Linked DNA regions of Homo sapiens: region 1 is linked to region 2. Evidence: promoter capture Hi-C in 16 types of primary human blood cells and fetal thymus (Javierre and others, 2016). All regions are on one chromosome and are shown on one strand. The core of a region is centred on a gene start or on the middle of the fragment in contact, and the rest is flanking DNA. Distances in the headings are between cores, read along the strand shown.

Region 1 (4,011 bases), core at 814-3,313, 270 kb after region 2:
GGAGTTTTTAAAAGATGCAGAAATATTCTTCAAGATGGCAGCTGCTTCTTATCTCAATTCCTTTTAAGAGATAAAATTCCTTTCATTCCTACAGTCAGCCAAAATAACACAGTTGAAGTTTATATAAATAATTATTTATTTTTAACCTCTATTCTTTTTTTTTTTTGAGATGGAGTCTTGCTCTGTCACCTAGGCTGGAGTGCAGTGGCTCAATCTTGGCTCACTGCAGCCTCTGCCTCCCAGGTTCAAGCTATTCTGCCTCAGTCTCCCGAGTAGCTGGGATGACAGGTGTGTGCCACCATGCCCGGCTAATTTTTGTATTTTTTAGTAGAGATAGGGTTTCACCATGTTGGCCAGGCTCGTCTAGAACTCCTGACCTCAAGTGATCTGCCTGCCTCAGCCTCCCAAAGTGCTGGGATTACAGGCATGAGCCACCGCGTCCGGCCAATATTTATTTATTTTTGAGACAGAGTCTTGCTCTGTCACCCAGGCTAGAGTGCATTGGCACGATCACGGCTCACCACAGCCTCTATCTCCCAGCTCAATCGATCTTCCCACCTCACCCTCCCGAGTAGCTAGGACTACAGGCATGAGCCCCCATGCCTGGCTAATTTTCGTTGTTTTTGTTGTTGTTGTTGCTTTGTTTTTTTGCAGAGATGCAGTTTCACCATGTTGCCCAGGTTGGTCTCGAGCATAGTTGAAGATGATAGCTCTCTGGTGATCCAGCTTGAGATAGCTTTCCGAGCAGATTTTTGACGTGAGCTGGACAATAACATGAGGACACCTGCTCTTTGCCCAGGCTTGCTGTGTGCTGAGGGCTTTGTGCCCACGGTGTCATTCGGTACAATGGTGCTCTGTATTGTTGACGGAGCCTTGCAGATCCTAGATGACAGATGTTGAATTACTTACCTATCTTACTGTGTAACAAATTACCCCAAAACTTAGTGGCTTAGAACAACAGCATTTATCATTTCACAGTTTCTGAGGGTTAGGAAAATGGGTGTGGCTCAGCTGGATGCCTCTGACTCAAGGTCTCTCATGAGGTTACCATCAAGTTGTTGTTGGGGCTACAGTGTCACCTGAAGACTCCCCTAGGGGAGGCTCCACTTCAAGCTCACTTACATGGAGGTCTTCAGGACCCGGTTGCTCATGAACTGTTGGCTGGAGACCTTCAGTTCCTTGACACATGGGCCTCTGCATAGGGTAGCTCAAAACATGGCAGCTGAACCCCATCAGAGAGAGCAAGCAAGAGGGCACCCAAAATAGAAGCAATGGTCTTTTTGTAACCTAATCTTAGATGTGATATCCCATTGCTTTTGCCATATTCTTTTTTTTTGAGACAGAATCTCGCTCTGTCACCCCAGGCTGGAGTGCAGTGGTGCAATCTCAGCTCAGTGCAGCCTCTGCCTCCTGGGCTCAAGCAATTCTCCTGCCTCAGCCTCCCGAGTAGCTGTGATTACAGGCATGTGCCACCATGCCTGGCTAATTTTTGTATATTTTAGTAGAGATGGAGTTTACCATGTTGGCCAGGCTGGTCTTGAACTCCTGACCTCGAGTGATTGGCCTGCCTCAGCCTACCAAGGTGCTGGGATTACGGGTGTGAGCCACCGCACCCGGCCGCTTTTGCCATATTCTATTTGTTGGGTTTGTTGTTGTTGTTGTTGTTGGTTTGAGACAGTGTCTCCCTCTGTTGCCTGGGTTGGAGTGAAGGGACACAATAATAGCTCACTGCAGCCTCAACCTCCCAGGCTTGGGTGATCCTCCCACCTCAGCTGCCTGAGTAGCTGGAACTACAGGCACCACATTGTGCCACCACAATGGGCTAATTTTTAAATTTTTGGTAGAGATGGGGTTTCACCATGTTGCCTAGGTTGGTCTCAAATTCCTGGGCTCAAGTGATCCTCCCACCTTGGCCTTCCAGAGTGCTGGGATTCCATGCATGAGCCACTGCGTCTGGCCCATTTTCTATTTGTTAGAAGTGAGTTACTAAATCCATCCTATCCTCAAGGGGAGGGGATTACACAAAGGTGTGTATCCTGGGAGTCAAGGCTAACTGGGGTAACTATCGGGGAATCTGTCCCGATAGTCACGTAGGTTCTTTTCTGTTTTTCCTAAGCGTCGGCCAGCTTGAGAAATAAAGGGACGAGTACAAAAGAGAGAAATTTTAAAGCTGGGCGTCTGGGGGAGACATCACGTGTCGGTGGGTTCCGTGATGCCCCACAAGCCGCAAAAACCAGCAAGTTTTTATTAGGGATTTTCAAAAGGGGAGGGAATGTGCAAATAGGTGTGGGTCACAGACATCAAGTACTTTACAAGGTAATGGAATATCACAAGGCAAGTGGAGGCAGGGCAAGATCACAGGACCACAGGACTGGGGCAAAATTAAAATTGCTAATGAAGTTTCGGGCACCATGGTCATTGATAACATCTTATCAGGAGACAGGGTTTTGAGAGCAACTGGTCTGACCAAAAATTTATTAGGCGGGAATTTCCTCTTCCTAATAAGCCTGGGAGTGCTATGGGAGACTGGGGTCTATTTCACCCCTATAGCCTCGACCATAAGAGACAGGCACACCTAGGGGGGCCGTTTATAGGCCTATACCCCCAGGCGCGTATTCTCTTTCCCAGGGATCTTCCTTGCTGAGAAAAAGAATTCAGTGATATTTCTCCCATTTGCTTTTGAAAGAAGAGAAATATGGCTCTGTTCCACCCGGCTCATCGGTGGTCAGAGTTTAAGGTTATCTCTCGTATTCCCTGAACAATTGCTGTTATCCTGTTCTTTTTTCAAGGTGCCCAGATTTCATATCATTTAAACAGACATGCTCTACAATTTGTGCAGTTAATGCAATTATCACAAGGTTCTGAGGCAACATACATCCTCCTCAGCTGACAGGATTAAGAGATTAAAGTAAAGACAGGCATAGGAAATCACAAGGGTATTGACTGGGGAAGTGATAAGTGTCCATGAAATCTTTACAATTTATGTTTAGAGATTGCAGTAAAGACAGGCATAAGAAATTATAAAAGTATTAATTTGGGGAACTAATAAATGTCCGTGAAATCTTCACAATCCAGGTTCTTCTGCCATGGCTTCAGCCAGTCCCTCCGTTCGGGGTCCCTGACTTCCCGCAACAGGTAACATACCAACATGTGTAGGTGGTGAGGTTGCCATTTTAATGAAAATGAAACAGAGCGACTCATCTTGGTGCCCTGGTGCAGGGTGATGCCTCTGTACATAGAGGTGGTGGCGGGAGCCCTGAGACTTTCCTCGGAAAGGAGCTTTGGCTCTGCCCCGAGTACTGCCCTGGAGTACAGTGGTGTGATCTCAGCTCACTGCAGCCTCCACCTCCGGGGCTCAAGCAATTCTCCCACCTCATCCTCCCAAGTAGCTGGTATTACAGGCACGTGCCACCACGTCCAGCTAATTTTTATTATTTTTATTTTTTTTTTAATTTGTAGTAAAGACGGGGTTTCACCAGGTTGGCCAGGCTGGTCTTGAACTCCTGCCTCTGCCTCTCAAAGTGCTGGGATTACAGGCATAAGCCGCCATGCCCAGCCCCATTATTAACTTATTATTAATTTGCCCAGACTTGAGGTTCCTTCCTCCACAGATTTTTTTCTTCACAGAAGCCCTATCCTTCGGACGCTTTGTTGCTGTTTCTTTTCCATAGATAGAGAAACTTCAGCATAGGCAGCTTAAGAAACTGCCCAAACACAGCTAGTAAGTGACTTAGCTGAGTTTCAAATGCATGTCCCTCTGACTCTAAAGTGTTTTCTTTTCCTACCATATGCCCTGCTGTTTGTATTTATACGAAAATGCCACTCTAGGTAAGTGAACCAATGTGTTCAATGGAGATGTTTTACACTGTCATTCTGTCCTTGGCAGAAATTGGCCAGCAAGTTTACAGGTTTGTCAAGAGTCTCTGGGAAAGTGGATAGGACCAGGGCATCAGGTCATCTTGCTGCTGGCGTGGCAGAAGGACCCAGGCCCAGGTTGTCTAGAAGCTGTGC
Region 2 (4,078 bases), core at 793-3,292:
CCTGTGGAGCTGTGCAGGTCACTGGAGCTTCTTTCCTGACTCAACCCTTTAGTAAGTGACCCTGCAGCCCTCCCAGACATGCCCCTCCCCTCAGCCAGGCTCCAGTTCCTGTTTATTCCACACTAGATGGGAGAAAGAAACAGAGAGAGATTAGGCCCAGGATTCTAAGGCCATTTTGACCCTCCCTTTCCTGGGGCTGAGCATCAGTAACCCCCGCCCCCTCTCCCCAGCACTGAGCTCAGGAATGATCCTTTTCGGCCCCCTCCTGTGCAGACTCTCGGGCTCCCGCCAGTGACTCACTAAGGCTTGCCTGCCTGCCTGCGGCTGCAGGAATGGCGGTAGGCATTACTCCAGTTGGTTCAGGCCTGGGGCCCCCAGGCATAACCTTTAGAGCATCCAGTCTCTTGGGCTCCACTACCCTTCAGAGAAGGTCGCAGGGCCTGAACTTCCGGCACTCTAATTCACAGAATTCAAACATTCCAGGAAAGGGTATAAGGAGAAGAGAAGGGAGCCCTTAGGCCCTAATGTGGACCCGGGAGTGTGGCTTAACCTCTTCCAGGCAGTGGAATAAGCAGGCAAAGGGCACAGGAGGAAGGTCCTAGGGCTGGCAGACTACACTTCCATCACCCAAGCTGCTTATTACAGTTATTTCTGATTACCACCCCCCTTTCAAAAAGCTCTGGAATGCAATAAAAATAAGGACTGGGGGGTGGGGGTGGCGCAGGCTCATAAAATTAAGAAATCCTTCCATCTGAAATCGTGATTCCAGGCCCATGAAGTAACTCATTTCTGGCCTGGGTGCCTATAAGCAAGAAGCAGGGATGTCAGGATGCCTGAATTATCCAAATTATTTGGGTCAAATTAATTTAGACTGTTTGAGAAAAGGCATTAATTTGGTTTTAGATTTCCTGGATTAGCCCTGGTATTAATTTCACAGGGAGTACTTTAGAGGACTTTTCTAAACTGGAAAATAAAGCCTTTTCCTGTGGCTGTCAAGGTCTTCCAGAGGGGTGAGCGGTCTCTCAAGGTGGTGGACTCATCCCATCCCTCAGTCCCAAACAGGCTGGGAGAGGAGATGCAAAATGGAGGTAGAGCCTGGGGCAAAGCACCAAGTCCACAGGTATCGAGTGGTAGGTAGCGAAGGGCACCCGAGAACCAGAGGGGGGCCTTGGGCAAGAATGGAACATTTAGTTAAGGGGAAAGACCTTCAGTGAAAGCCAGGCAGCGTCCTCAGGTGAGCCCACAGCAGCAAACTGGGCTGGTGGAGTGAACGTAAAGGTAAGGGTTTCCAGTATGGAAAAGGTCAAGGCTTTAAGAAGGAAAAACCGGCCGGGGGAACTGACAGTGGTGAATAAGGGAAAGCTGGGGAGACAGAGCCTGCTTGGGGTTCAGGTGCAGAGTAATGAGAGGGTGGTAGGCTTTTCGCCTTGGGGAGGACATTGTGGGAAAAGATGGTGCCATGGGGGTGCGGGGGCTGTCACAGGTCTAAGGAAGAAGAGCCGCGGGGTGCCACTGAACTAAGAGGAGGGGGTGCCGCATGGCGTGAGACCTGTCACGGTGCAAGGCGGCGGCACAAAGGGGTGTCACTGTCCTACGAGACGGGGAAATTGTCCTTGCGCGGAGGGGTAGGGGGTTGGCACGATCCTAGGGAGGGGGCGCTGCGCAGCGTTCCTGCTCTGGGAGGATTCCAAGCGGTATCCCTCTCATGGGAGGCGCCAGGCGGGTCAGGTGGAGGGCACCGCTCCCCGCCAGCCCTGCAATCGCGCCCCGGGCGCCCCCGCCCCACCGTCAGCTAGCTCCCGGGTCCGAAGGCTGAAGCCACTCCCGGGTGTGGGCAGCTTTCCGCCAGCTCAGTGCAGGGCAGGACAAAGCTGCGCGGCGAGGCAGACGACCCGCAGCGTCCTCCTCCACGCCATAAGGCCAGATCCCCGGCTCACCTGGTGTCCTCGGCCCCCTGCTCTGCCGGCCCGGCCACTCTCCGGATCCCAAGATGTCCGCCCGCCCCCTGCTCGTCTGCCCGCTGCCTCGGCTTTCACCGCAGTGCCGCCGCCCCGCCCCGGCCCCGGCTGCGCGTGCGCGCCGGCGTCTAGCGCCGACTACAAATCCCGTCAGGCCTCGCGGCCTCCTTGCTTGCAATTTGAAGCGCTCTAGGTTTAGCAAAACTACAACTACCGACTGCCTTCGAGAAACCGCCCCCGCCTCAGGAAGGGGTAGGCGTGGCCTTAGTCGGCCCTACCAGAAATACACATTCCAGCATACACCGCTCCACCCGCCTCATTTTTTTTTTTTTTTTTTTTTTTTTTTTTTTTTTCACTGAGCGCTCTGGGAATTGTAGTCCCTGCACTTCCTCCTGTTCCTATTTGTGTTCTGGAGAGCTTTGGGATATTAATGCCATTTGTGGAAGCACATCTGTTAAGCCTTGGATTGCTGTAGGCCTTTTCTGTCTCCAGAGTCCCAGGACTGGCTGTCCTCACTTTACACACAAATAAATACAACTGGGCAGTAGAAGTGTTTGTGCTGAATTTACTGCTTTCTAACACTACCTCTGATTCTCTCAAGCTTTTCTCATATATTTGTTCCGGACATGAGCTTTTTCCAAGGGATCAAGACCCAAGGAGAGGAGCGGGGAGGAAGGAGGCGACTACTTGGAAGAAACTAAACCTTTTCACAAATAAGTCCATGACTGTACACTCTTCCCGGAGGTCAGCTACAGCTTTTCATGAACGAGCCGATGTTCTCCTTAGCTATACCTATGCGACTGTGTATGCCTTCTAGTGACAGGCATATATGTTGCTTAGAAGACGTTCGAAGAGTTGAATTTAGTTTGACATGGGATTTGAAATCCCCTCTTTGATAAACAGAATCTTTACATCCAAGCTGAGGAGACAGACCCAACCCTCACACATGAAAGGCCTGCTTGGTTCTTGCAGAGTCTTAAGAAAATCTGTTGGCTCTTCTCTTTCTGTAGGCAGAGATAAACTGCTGCCTTCCTTGGGCAGGACTACGCCTGTCATGGGAGGAAGGAAGGGCAAGAAAGGACAGATCTGGTTGCAAATGTTACAGTCCTTCCCAGCCTCCAGCCAGAAGCCACGATGTGGCAGGATGAAGATCTGACCTCTCTCACATCATAGTCACGGCCTGAAGTCATTAAGTGACTGAATACAGGCACTTCTAATTTTTGAACCAGCACTCAAGGCTTCACTTCTACCTTTGCAAAAGCTTTATCTTCCAAAAATACCCTAAACTGCTACCAATTTAGAGTAAATAATAATAATGATAAAATAATAATAATAATAGCTACCATTTATTGAGCACCTACTCTACTGTGTGCCAGGCACTGTGCTAGGCACTTTTCGTACAATATCTAATTTAAATCCTCACAACAACCCTGTGAGGTAGGTATTATTATCATCATTTTACATACGAGGGAACTGAGGCTCAGAGAGGTTAAATAACTCTATCACACAACCAAAAATAGTAGAGCTGGAATTCAAACCCAAAACCACCTAACTCCAAATCCCATGCTCCAATGAATTAAAGTAGAGAGGGGAGAGGGAGGGCCAAATTCAAGACAGAGTGTTGGAGTGAAATGGATATGATATGCTGATAAGATATGGGAAGAAGGAATGTAAGCTCATAAATGTTTCTAGCTGGTGAGCCTATGTAGATTGTGATGAAGTAACCAGGAGAGGAATTCAGGAGGAACATACTTGGTTGGGCAGATGAGTTGAGTCTATACGGAACTGTCCATAGAGATGTCCAGTAGGTAATACCAATACAGATCTAAAGTCTGGGGGAAGTTGGGGGTTGGAGCTATGTATTTGGGAATCACCAGCATATCAGCAGCAATTGAGGACATCAGGATGAATGACTCCATTTTGGGAGTAAATAGAAAGGAAAGAGAAGTGAATCAAAGATGGAACGATGGAAGCACTGATACTGACAGGCATGAGCAATCGTTGAGAAATTCTCAAGAGAGTCGGACAAGACAGAGTCAGAGAGAGAAGTACATGAAACAGCCCTGTAGTGGTGGCTAGAAGCCATGGACTGGGTTGGGAACAATTCTAGAGCTCCCAGA

What was found. Contacts are between HindIII fragments. The CHiCAGO score rates a contact against its expected background, and 5 or more counts as called.
Region 1: a contact is called between a fragment that was not itself captured here and the fragment with the promoter of AP2M1 in region 2, in 8 of 17 cell types (M2 macrophages, endothelial precursors, M0 macrophages and 5 more). The highest score is 12.2, in M2 macrophages.

Annotation. Positions count from the first base shown.
Region 1 is chr3:183,898,539-183,902,549 of GRCh38, reverse strand. It overlaps the pseudogene CYP2AB1P. Among named protein-coding and RNA genes, the nearest start is that of MIR4448, 14 kb to the right of the region's middle. The HindIII fragment of the contact is 4,315 bases long and covers 1-4,011 here.
Region 2 is chr3:184,172,819-184,176,896 of GRCh38, reverse strand. It overlaps AP2M1 (adaptor related protein complex 2 subunit mu 1), which reads right to left and starts at 2,042. Exons shown (of 12, transcript NM_004068.4): 1 at 1,938-2,042. It overlaps DVL3 (dishevelled segment polarity protein 3), which reads right to left. Exons shown (of 15, transcript NM_004423.4): 15 at 3,283-4,078. RefSeq lists enhancers at 1-392, 1,925-1,994 and a silencer at 1,665-1,714. The HindIII fragment of the contact is 5,273 bases long and covers 1-2,561 here.